Regions from separate parts of the Homo sapiens genome. Here region 2 is linked to region 1. Evidence: promoter capture Hi-C in 16 types of primary human blood cells and fetal thymus (Javierre and others, 2016). All regions are on one chromosome and are shown on one strand. Each heading gives the region's core, a stretch centred on a gene start or on the middle of the fragment in contact. The rest is flanking DNA. Distances are from core to core; before and after follow the strand shown. Region 1 holds the start of ABCA13 (ATP binding cassette subfamily A member 13). Region 2 holds the start of LOC105375270 (a long non-coding RNA gene).

What was found. Contacts are between HindIII fragments. The CHiCAGO score rates a contact against its expected background, and 5 or more counts as called.
Region 2: a contact is called between a fragment that was not itself captured here and the fragment with the promoter of ABCA13 in region 1, in 1 of 17 cell types (neutrophils). The highest score is 5.1, in neutrophils.

The regions. Positions count from the first base shown.
Region 1 is chr7:48,168,122-48,174,354 of GRCh38, forward strand. It overlaps ABCA13 (ATP binding cassette subfamily A member 13), which reads left to right and starts at 3,337. Exons shown (of 62, transcript NM_152701.5): 1 at 3,337-3,431. The coding sequence starts at 3,363. The HindIII fragment of the contact is 8,502 bases long and covers 1-6,145 here.
Region 2 is chr7:47,982,050-47,988,500 of GRCh38, forward strand. LOC105375270 (a long non-coding RNA gene) reads left to right here and starts at 393. Exons shown (of 3, transcript XR_927251.3): 1 at 393-1,086; 2 at 2,169-2,256; 3 at 4,302-5,396. It overlaps SUN3 (Sad1 and UNC84 domain containing 3), which reads right to left. Exons shown (of 10, transcript NM_001030019.2): 10 at 5,099-5,400. The coding sequence ends at 5,281. The HindIII fragment of the contact is 2,057 bases long and covers 2,294-4,350 here.

The sequences.
Region 1 (6,233 bases), core at 2,087-4,586:
TAGGTTGGCATCATCCAATCAGCTGAAGGCCTGAATAGAACAAAAAGGCTGATCCTCCCCAAGTAAGAGAATTTTTCCTGCCTGATGACCTTTAAATTGAGACCTCAGCTTTTTTTCTGCCTTCAGACTTGAATTGAAGCCTTGGCTCTTTGGGGTTATTAAATATGCTGGCCTTTAGATGGCACCGATTGCTTTCTTGGTTCTCAGGCTTTTAGACTCTGACTAGAGCTACACCATTGTCTCTCCAACTTGCTACACCATTATCACCAAGTTGCTGACTCACCTGCAGATCTTGGGACTTGCCCAGCTCCATAACTGCTTATGCCACTTCCTTATGGTAAATTTCTTTAGATATATAAATATGCATATGATTCTGTTTCTCTGGAGAACCCTAATACGTATTTTGGTACTAAGAATAATTCTGGAGGAAGAGAATCTTAAGGATAAACTTAAATAGGTTCTGAGGTTTCTGGGATTGAATCTCTAATCTGATTAGATTTAAAGACTATTGACTCTATTTCTAATAAAGAGAAAATTGGTGGTCCATGACATGATGTGGCAGTAGAGATGCACAAAATATCACCACTAGATGCTTCTAATCAAACACTTAGAAGAAGCAAGGGTCTGGATGATCTTGTATTTGATACTTTCCAACATTTTTGTCAAACTCATGAGTAAAATGAGGTTGACTGGTTGCTTCTAGTGTTGGTGGACAAAGTGGAAAAAGAAAAGGATGACCTCAGGGGTCAAATTCCCAGCTGAAGTGCTGCATAAATGACCTGAAAGTTTCTAAGTGTGTCCCCGAAAGAGACCCTTATTTCCTGTAGTTGCAGGGCTGAGATTGCAGAAAATCAAACCAGAATCTCATCTTGCAACTGACTGAATTACAATGCAATTTGACTGCTAGTCTTGTAGGGTGTCTACTATTAAAGTAAAGGCATTGATTTGGAGGGAATGCGGTGCTGAAAGTTGGAATGGAGATATGTGGGAAGACCCTGATGAAGCTGGAGACACTGAGCCCCTAAATAACGTCTTCTTTGTTATGTGGAAGAGATCTCCACACTCAAGTGGAGGCATTTTCCCCAGTCCTAGTGGAAGTAGTCTCTTACCCCATGTCTGAGGGGATCAACCCTGCCTTGCCTAAGAAAACTATAATGTCCTACCATGAGGCAGTTGCCATGCAAGGCGCTTCTGCTTCTCCTCAGAACCCACTCCCACCATTCCTCGTTCATTTCAGACCTATAACTAGATTCAAGTCCCAGCAGCACCCAAAGGGGAGATATAAGGTATAAACCATGAGGAAGTGTGCTATACATCAAATGGACAATTTGAGTTTTCTAATGTATACAAGCAGAAATCTGGGGAATATGTGTGGAAATGGATATAAGGGTATGGGATAATGATGGAAGGAACATAAAATTGTATCAGGCCAAATTTGCTAATATGGGGTCACTAAGCAGTTATTCTGCATTTAATATGGCAGCTCATGGAGTTAGGAAGGGCTCTAATTGCTTGTTTGTTTTCTTGGCTGAAACACGGAACAAAAGATAGCATTATTCTGGGAGTTTCTGCAAGGGTGTTTATAAATGACATTAATATTTAAGTAGGTAGACTGAATTCAGCAGATGGCCCTCCCTAGTGTGAGTGGGTCTCATCCAATTAGTTGAAGACCTAAACAGAACAAAAAGTCTGACTTTCCCCTAAGTTAGATAATTATTTCTGTCTGATGGCCTTCATACTGGGACATTGGCTTTTTTTTGTTTTCTGCCTTCAGACTTTATGGAAATACCAGCTTGTCCTGGGTCTCAAGTTTCCCAGTCTTTGGATGGCAACTACACCATTGGCTCTCCTGTTCTCAGGTCTTTGGACTCGGACTGGAACTATATCATTGGCTTCCTTGGGTCTCTGACTTGCTAATTCACCTTGCAGATCTTAGGACTTGCCCACCTCCATGACTGTGTGAGCCTATTCCTTATAATCAATCAATCAATCGATCAATGAATCACCCATTGGTTCTGTTTATCTGAAAATCCTAACACAGCATTGTTCCATGAAAGCAATGGATGAGATAATTTTTGTGTCTCTGACATAATTCTGGCATAGCAGCATAAAAACTGGCTGCTATGAACATAACATGAGAAAAACCTTATGGTTGGAGGCTTTTTCTTATACTAGATTTTTAAAAATTATGACAATTACTTGTAAGGTGTTCTAGATGTTATCTGCAAAGAGAACCAGAGTAGCAATACTTAGGCAACCCCAAAGACCTTTGAGAAGTCACAGGTCAAGGGGGAACATCATATGGGGATCAGGCAAATCCACTTATGGTTGCTGGGCGCCATCCTGCTAAGTAATGGCCTTCACTCTAGTGCTGCCAGCCATGTAACAAAAAATAAAATAAAATAGGCATGCTCTAAACAAATAAGTTTACAAAATAATTGAGTCAGTTTCTTTGCTGAAGCCTGTGTTCCCTGTTTCCTATTGCAAAAGCCATTTATCAAGCATTCACAGCTTGTGAAAATTGCTTTATGAAATAGAAGACCACAAGACTGGGTTGCCTGAAATCCTTCTGACCACAACTGGGGGCAACAGGAACTCAAGAGGGCCTGGCTTCCAAGACGATGGAGCCACCAGCTGGCAAGCTGAATCCATCATGCCACTTAGAAAGTGCAAGTGTTCAGGAATCAAACAGGACTCAGAGGTAATCCACAGGCCACTTGCTGAGTCCTGCCACATCTGCACCCGATACCATTTGAAACGTAGATCCTGATCCCTTTGGAGGAAATGGGTGAAGGAGAAGTATGAAGTGCAGGTGCAGTAGCAGAGTGGAACTTGAGTCACCCATTCCCCAAACTCCCCCAGACACCAACACTGCTTCCATCTCCTTCCCTTCAAACTCTCTGCCATGGGACCACCAAAATTGAAATATTTTGGCAAATTTGTGTAATAACCAATGCTTCAGAAGAAAAAAGGAAAATTCCATCTAATTAATATCCAGAAAAAAAGGGAGGTAAATGGTAAATGTGGGCATTACTTCTTGTCGCACAGATCAGTTCTGTGGGTTCTCGGAAAGGGAGGGCACCCTCTCTGTGTATGTGTGTATGCCCGAGAAAGTCCCTGAAGGCAGCTTTCTGTAATTCAACCCTCCTGAAACACTGAACAGCTAGTGAAAAGATTTCTCAGCAGATGCCGAACAAGAGGGGACATCTGATGCCTGTTTTATTCAGTCACCAGTAATCTCTCTTGCATCACTCACTTTTGTTAGAATTGACTAATAGGCAACATGCCTTCACTTGAGCCCAGCAGATATAAGCACCATCCTTACAGGCTGGCTTCCTGACTGAGAGCAGGGAGCAGCAGGCATGGGGCATGCCGGGTGCCAGTTCAAAGCCCTGCTGTGGAAGAATTGGCTCTGCAGACTCAGGAACCCGGTGAGTGCTTGCCTTGGTTTTCCATAGGGTTCCAGTGAGGTCTGGAGCAAGATCAGGGTCTATTCTTTCCTGCCTGCCTCTGCCTCCTGGCAGGTAAAAACACTCATGCTGCAGGGAATTTGGGGAGGTTGGATTATTTTAAATCAAAACCCGTCCCAAGGGCCAAAGTAGCTGAACACTTTAATGACCAGGATGAAATCAAGGCTGAAGAATTTATCAGAAAAGGGCAAATTTAGAAAAATTCTAAAAACAAACAAACAAAAAAGCAGGTGGAATTGAACTATAATTTGTGTTCTAAGCATTCGTTGTAAAAACTGAACAGTGAATTCTCAGGTTTAAGGAACAAAGCATTTGCTGCATTTAATGCATAAGCAGAATGCTACAGGTACTGACTCCGAAGCACAAGACTGCACAGTGTGCCTCACCAGAGCAGGGTATGACACATCCACTCTGTTATTCTGTAGGGTCACCATCTTTAGTGTTAATTCACATCTATTTAGAACTGTATTCAAATTACATTAGCAAGGTTTTCCTAAGGAGATTGGAATTGTTCAAATGAAACTTGTGTGAATACTTATGCAAATATCCTGTAAGTGTACGTTTTTGTGAAATAGAAATCAATTGCTTGTTATTATGACTAACTTTATTCCTGATGCCACTATATAAACATTAATACCTATAAATGTCATTTTCAGGAGAAGTAGATGTGCAGTAATTTACCTGCATCGTTTCTGATTTTAAGGTCTACAGTTAACCTATGGGAATTTTCTGCTGACAAATGCTTTGGTTTGAAGAGATTCAGTAATTGACATTGAATTACATTTTGCTGAATCCTCCGAGCCAGAATATTCTATCTCTCTGTCTTGAAATAAAATACAAGTTAAAGGAGATGTTTTCTTTTTTATGTGATCTTTAGGATCAAAATAATTTCAGTTGAAAGTTTGTACAAAAGTTTTAAGTTGGCCGGGCGCGGTGGCTCACGCCTGTAATCCCAGCACTTTGGGAGGCCGAGGCGGGCGGATCACGAGGTCAGGAGATCGAGACCATCCTGGCTAACACAGTGAAACCCCGTCTCTACTAAAAAAACACAAAAAAATTAGCCGGGTGTGGTGGCGGACGTCTGTAGTCCCAGCTACGCGGGAGGCTGAGGCAGGAGAATGGCGTGAACCCGGGAGGCGGAGCTTGCAGTGAGCCGAGATCGCGCCACTGCACTCCAGCCTGGGCGACAGAGCGAGACTCCGTCTCAAAAAAAAAAAAAAAAAAAAAAAAAAAAAAAAAAAAAAGTTTTAAGTTCAGGAATAAAGGAGTGAGACAGTCTTCATTGATTGTTAGTGTGTTCGTGTCTGTGTAGGTAGTTTTACATTTATAAACAGTGTATTTCATTGACATGTAAGTTTGTTTTAGGGAATTAGCCTATTTTCCCATGAAAGAGTGTTATGGGTGGAAGTTGGTTCCCAGGCACTGCTCTTTCTGCTTTATGCATATCTACCTCAAAACAGTTCAGTGACCGAGGTAGCCAGACTGCCTACTCCTCCTTAATGGATACTTGAGTTTTAAAAAATTTTCACAATTACTTTTGCTGCTAAGGCAAACATCCTCATCAGAAGGTTTTATTTGTTTGATAACTGTTTATTTAAAGTGGTAACTCCTGCATCCCACTTTTCTTTGACTTATTTTTCTTTAGTATTTATCATCTTGTAACACACCACAGATTTTCTTATTTGCCGATTGCCTCTGGATCCTACATTAGTATGTTACATGCATGAGAGCAGGACATTTTCCCCAATTGGTTCATCAATGTATTCTCCAGCACCCAGAACAGTGCCTGGCACACAATGGATGTTCAGTAAATATTTGTTGAATAAGTAAAAGAAGGAAGGAATAAAGCATTTATGCATCTCTGTTATGTGCCAGATAGTGGGTGAACAAGAAAAGTGAGTTCCTGGCCCACAAAGAGCTATAGTCTGTTCACAGAAAAGCAATGAAAAATGCAATTAAATATTTAATGAAACCACCTCTTGGGATATATCCTATAGATGTCCCTGCACAAATGGGAAGTGATATTTGTACAAGGTTGTTCATTATAGCAATGCCTAGAATAGCAACAGAGTAGAAACAACACAAGTGGTTCCATGCATAGAATTTGGAGCTGCCTGACTGGGTTCACATCCCAGCTCTGTCACTTACTAGTTTACTTTTTCAGGCAATTTCTTAACTTAGTTTTCTTCTCTGTAAAATGAAATTGTTTGTAAGTATTAAATGAGTTTGTACATGTAATGTGCTTGCAACAGTACCTGGTATAGGAGTGGGAGCTGTTTTCTTATTTGGTAGAAATGGGTGGCCTCAGACATCTGTGGACATGAACCGTGGGCTGTGAGGAGAGGAGGCACAGGGTAACTCTCAGTTCATGGCTTGCACAGTTGGGTTAGAACAGAACTCCAGGGGGATAAAATGTGAATATGTTTACATATCTTAATGTTATTACAGTGGAAATATTGAGGGCAGGCCCCTCTGGGTGAATGTCTTTAAACTGACCTATTTTTCACAGCATTCTCCCATTCTCCAATGATAATCTGTAGATTCTTTGTTTTTGAACTATGAAAGTGAGGTGTTGGCATGAACTGTGGAATAACCAAACTGCCTGAGTGAATAAATGGCCTCAAATACATGTTTATTTAGTGAGTAAAGCCAGGAACTATTTGTTGTAGGAAGGAAGCTTGTCTGTTTTTACATTTACTGTTTTTTTTAGCTTTTTTTTTAAATTGATGCATAATAGATGTACATAGTGTCAGCATACATGTG
Region 2 (6,451 bases), core at 2,072-4,571, 190 kb before region 1:
AATATAATTAAAGAATGTATCTAAATAAACTTTGTAAACAATGTTTTGTAACATCTTGATCTTTAGTGTAAATTGCTTAATTTTATGTCATAAAAACTGATAAAGCAATTTTTTAAACTTCCTAAGAAGATGTGATATGATACATTCTGCATGGACAAAAGCCCAAATAATATAGGAATTTGACTCAAGAAATAGAAAATAAAGCTGCAATTATCTTTTCTTGGAAGAAGAAAGGAATCTTTTATGTGCTCTTGCAATTTTCTTAAACAGGTTTAGCAAATTAATTCATTAACTTCAGAATTGACAATTAAGTATATTGACACTACTTCTCTACTTTCCAAATGATTTTGAGGCAAGGAATGTGATCTCTAGAGATTTCTAGAAGCCCCATGTACCACTGAGTTTTCTAATGCAATGTATATTCATGTTCTCATCTAGCTACAGTAAATTGCCTTCTGACTTAAGAACTGCCAAATGTCAGGGATTAGTAATTCAGTCACACAATGATTTGGGAAACAGTGTTCACGCTGTTCATTAAGTTTGTTTAGTGGGGAGGTAAATGCCTTAATCTTGTCTTAGAAACTGAAATAAACAGTGGTGCAAATAAAATGTCATTCAGGATGCATATAGTTGGAAGTAAGGGAAATAACCTCTCTACAGCTGCAGATGGTAAACTCTGTCTAGGTAAGTATTTGGCCAGTCTCTTTCAGGTACTTACTCATCTTCTCTAGTCCCTGGGGGAAGAGACAGCAATTTGCAGCCCTGTTGTTAGCAGTTAATGTTGGAAAAATTACCCAAGGGAAACAACGTGACTAGCTCACATGTTACGCATCAAATTTGAAAGGCAGTATTTGTCTTCTTTTTTTAACATGAGAAAACTGTAAAATGAAGGAAAGCATACCCTAGAGGTGGCATGAGTGAATGTCTTTTGACAACTGTACTTGTTCTAAGAGATGGGTTTTTGCTTAAGCAGCTCTTCAAAGACTCTTCTCCTCTTTTAGGTGTCAAAAAAATTCTTCAATAAATTCCATAGATACTTTTCTAAATGAAGATTTGTGGAGCACATGAGAAGTGTCAGGCATGGTGGTGAGTGATGGGGATTAAGGAAGGGGACCAGCCCCTACTCAAGAGGAGGGTGATCAACATTTATTGGATGCCTTTAAAGCACTATTTAAATATTATTGATCAGTAGGGTGAGATAGATAGCTCTCATTTTATAGCACTCTGCACTGATATCATCACTTAGATAATATAAACACACGTAAAATAAGTATGATTATTCCCATTTTATTTTATTTTATTTTATTTTAGATGGAGTCTTGCTCTTGTTGCCCAAGCTGGAGTGCAATGGTGCAATCTCGACTCACTGCAACCTCTGAGTCCTGGGTTCAAGTGATTCTTTTGCCTCAGTCTACCGAGTAGCTGGGATTACAGGCACCTGCCACTACACCCAGACCATTTTTTGTATTTTTAGTAGAGATGGGGTTTCACTGTGTTGGCCAGGCTGGTCTCAAACTCATGACATCAGGTGAGCTGCCTGCTTCAGCCTCCCAAAGTGCTGGGATTACAGGTGTGAGCCACAATGCTCGGCCTATTATTCCCATTTTAAAGATGGGGACAGATAGAATTGGCAATGTTGGCCATGGCATGCCCTACCTCACACTCTTGATGAGAATCTGCATCACTGGATTGCTGAGTGTCCAGTGACCCACATGCTCCTGCTGACTGGACCAGCTCTATTTACACTTGACCTTCAGGAAAACAATTGATAGTGTGGAAATAAATGAAGACCAACCAAATGGAACAGGCAAAGCCTATTTATTCAGAGTCAGCCATTATCACTTGCATTTCAGCAGAGACTCAAAGGCAGGCAGAGAGGTAGGAACGCTTCATAGTGGAAAAGGAAGGAGAGTATAGTGAAGTAACAGAAGAGGTTACAGAGCATGTTTATTTACCAGCTAAAGCTAAAGTGGCAAAGGAAGGAGAGGTTCATCCCTACCCTTCTGCACCCCCTTATTTCCTCCTGGGAAATATTACTGATGAATAACATTTTATATACGGCATTTTGCACATGGTAAGTTTTTTAGTCAAAGGATATATTCATCTCGATTTTTATAGATAGGCCAAGTTCCCTCCATAAATGTTATACCTATTTGCATTTCTTCCAGCAACGTGTGAGAGATCCTGTTTCCCCAAAGCCTTGGAATAAAACATTATCAAACTTTTGGATCTTTCTAATTTCATCAGTGAAACATGGTACAGTATAATTTTTGCCATTTTTCTTAAGTAAATAAGCTTGAATATCTTTCATGTGCGTCTCTAGATGATCTGTTTACTGGCCATTTTTCTATTGGGTTATTGATATTATAATTGCTTTCTTGGGACTGTGTATATATTGGAAAGATTGGTCCTTATAATGTCAGTTGTGAATATTTTTTGCATTTTAAGTTTTGTTGGCCATGCAGAGGTTCTTGATTTTTATATAGTGGAATTTTTTTTCTTTTGTGGCTTCTAAATTTTGAGTCATATTTAGGAAGACCTTCCTCTATTCAATACCATACAGGAATTATCCCAAGTTTCCTTGTTAATATTTTTATGGTTTTATTACCTACTTGTATATATTTTACCATACTGGGAGTTTGTCATATTGTAAAGTGAGAAATATGGATGGAATTTTATTTTCTTAATGACTGGATAATTGTCCCAAGCCATTTGTTTTTTTCCCCCATACTCTTTTGAGATGCTACCATTATCATACACCCAACTTCCACATACATGTAAATATATTTTTGGACTTGTCTGTTGTTGGGAACAGGCCCCCCAAAATCTGGCCATAAAGTGGCCCCAAAACTGGCCATAAACAAAACCTCTGCAGCACTGTGACATGTTCATGATGGCCATAACGCCCACGCTGGAAGGTGGTGGGCTTACCGGAATGAGGGCAAGGAACACCTGGCCCACCCAGGGCGGAAAACTGCTTAAAGGCATTCTTAAGCCACAAACAATAGCATGAGCTATCTGTGCCTTAAGGACATGCTCCTGCTGCCATTAACTAGCCCAACCTATTCCTTTAATTCAGCCCATCCCTTTGTTCCCCATAAGGAATACTTTTAGTTAACTTAAGATCTATAGAAACAATGCTAATGACTGGCTTGCTGTTAATAAATATGTGGATAAATCTCTGTTCGGGGCTCTCAGCTCTGAAGGCTGTGAGACCCGTGATTTCCCACTTCACACCTCTATATTTCTGTGTGTGTGTCTTTAATTCCTCTAGCGCCGCTGGGTTAGGGTCTCCCCGACCAAGCTGGTCTCGGCAGTCTGTTCCATTGGTCTATCTGTTTGCCAGTATCATACAGTTTTAACTATTGTTTTATACCTATGTCATAGAGCTATTTCTTTTTGTTGATTTTTTTTCAGAGATTTTTCTGGCTGTCCTTTTGCTAAGTTTATATTTCCATATGAACTTTAGAATCAATTTTATTTAAAACATACCCCCCTTTGGGTTTTTAAAAATATATACATGTCTTAATTTTTAAAAAACTTTTTAATTGAAAATATCGAACATATATAAATCTAGACAGAATAATATAATGAAGCTCCATGGACTGGCAGCATTCAACTTCAATGATCATTTCATGGCCAATCTTTTTCATGAATTTTCTTATCCATTTCTTCCTCTTATGTTATTATGGAAAAGATCCCACATATATCATTTCAACTTTAAATATTTAAATATGTAAATAAAAAGATTTATTTTAAAATCATCATTTTAGTACCATTATCATACAGACACCTATAATTTATTTTTTTCAGACAGGGTCTTGCTCTGCCGCCCAGGCAGGAGCACAGTGATCATGGCTCACTGCAGCCTCAAATTCTTGGGCTCAAGTGATCCTCCCACCTCAGCCTTCCAAGTAGCTGGAACTGCAGGTGTGCACTGCCATGCCCAGCTAATTTTTTTATTTTTAATAGAGACAGGGTCTCACTATGTCACCCAGGCTCATCTTGAACTCCTGGAGTCAAGCAGTCCTTCTACCTTGGCCTCCCAAAGTGCTGAGATTATAGGTGTGAGCCACCGTGCCCAGCCCAAATTATTTTTTTTAACGATAATTCTTTAATATCTCATAACTGTCCCATAAAGTCCATATTTTTCTGCTTTTTAACTGAGATCAAGTTACATTTATAAATTAACTTAGAACTGACATCTTGACAGTTGAGTTTTCCCATTGAAGGATACAGTATATGGTACATCTATTTTTCCATTTATTTTACTGAAGTCTTCTTTTTTTTTTTTTCTCCAGACAGGGTCGCCCAGGCTGGAGCGTAGTGGCTCGAACACAGCTCACTTGAAGCTTCAACCTCCCGGGCTCAAGTGATCCTCCCACCTGTCTCCTGAGTAGCTGCAACTACAGGCATGTGCCAAGACGTCTGGCTAATTTTTAAATTTTTTGTAGGGATGGGGTCTTGCTGTGTTGCCCAGACTGGTCTCAAACTCCTGGGCTCAAGTGATCCCCCAACCCTTGGCCTCCCAAAGTGCTAAGATTACAGTTGTGAGCCACTGTGCCTGGCCTTAAGTCTTCTTTTAGTCATTCACTGCTGTTTGGGATTTTTTTCACATAGATATTTTACTTTCTTCTTTTATTTGATGTTTATTATCTAAAGATAATAATGGATTTTGTAAGTTATACCCTGTTGTTTTTATGAATGATATTGATTTATATATGGGAATTTTGCATCCACGAACTTACAACAGTTTTTCCTTGTTTCTAATTCTTTTAAAATAGACTCTATTGCATTTCAAGGAATTCATCAAATTATCTGCAAATGGTCATGGTCAGAACTCCTCACTAATTTTTACCTCCAATTTAAAAATTACTGGTTTCCTATCTAATTGCGCTGACCAGTGCCTCCAGATCAGCACTAAATGATAGTAGTGATAGTGGACATCCATGCCTGGTGTAAATAAATGAGTCCGTGAAGGCAAAGATGCTATTATGGGAAAGACTGATGATGAGACTATCTTCTTCTAAATACAAAATGAGTTTTCAATGCTCTAACAACATGAAGCATCCTTAAAGACTAAACTATGGCAAGGATATTTAATTTACTTCCATATTTTTTTATTAGTAAAATGCATTTACTTTTTACAGGCAAGTATGAACCACTTTGAGGTTTTCTTCCCACTCCCAATTCTCAATTCCTATGGGTGCGGTATCATCTAAGAGAATAAGCATTCTTGAATATTCTGGACATGTGGCATGGCCTTCTGTACCAACTCTTCTAGATGTGCTTGCCTGGTGTGCCATGGACCCTGAATCGATATAAACAAGTATACTTCGGGTGTCCCCAGTTGCTAAAGATATTAAGTTTCACACATAATAAATATTCAGAAACTGCATGCTGAAAATAAAGAAAAGAAAATCAATGCCTTATAACGAAATTCATCTCAAAGAATCCCAATGAATACTGATATAATTTTAAATTATATACTTTTTTTTTTTCGAGATAGGATCTGGCTCTGTCACACAGGCTGGAATGCAGTGGCATGATCATGGCTCATTGCCACCTCTACCTCCTGGGCTCAAGTCATCCTCCCAGCTCAGACCCCCGAGTAGCTGGAACTACAGGCACACGCCACCGCACCTAGCTAATTTATTAATTTTTTGTAGAGACAGGGTTTTGCCATGTTGCCCAGGCTGGTCTTGAACTCCAGGGCTCAAATGATTTACCTGCCTAGGCCTCCAAAAGTGATGGGATTACAGGTGTAAGCCACCACGCCTGGCCTATATACTTTTTCTTTTCTAACATAACTATTTTCAAATATCAGTCTAATGAATGAGAAAATAAGCTACTGGAATAAAGAGCTTATGAAAAGATAAGTAGAGGGAGAGGAGGATAATATGGCGGCCAAGTGACCTCTCTATTCCGCTGTTTCCCCCCTCTACACTCCTTGCTGGCTGTGCCGAGGAGCAGGGGCAAGAGGGCTTGTTGTCTAAAAACCAGAACTATGAAGCCAACTATAAGAACAGATAATATGAGCCCAAATGCATATGAATACATAATCAAATATGAAGCTCTACAAATATGCTCATTTCTAACATATATGTATTGTTTTACCTTTATTTTCTCACTATTTGGCCAAAAAGTGTCATAAAACACTTGTTTTTACATGATATAAAATGTCTTCTACATCTCTTCAGTTACTCCCTGTGGCTAATTTAAAAAATGAGGATATATTTCATTTGCCTTGGTGAGTTTCAGGGGATTTATAAGCTAACAGTTGATATTTTCTCCCACTGGGTTAGGAGTTTTACTTGTATTATCTGATATTAAATCTTTATCCTCTATTCCTTTGAGCTTCTCTCTGCCTCTGTCCACTTCATATTGTACCATCATCTTCCTCCCCTATACTCAAGCAAGGTGAGGTAGTAACTATTACACTTAATAGTAT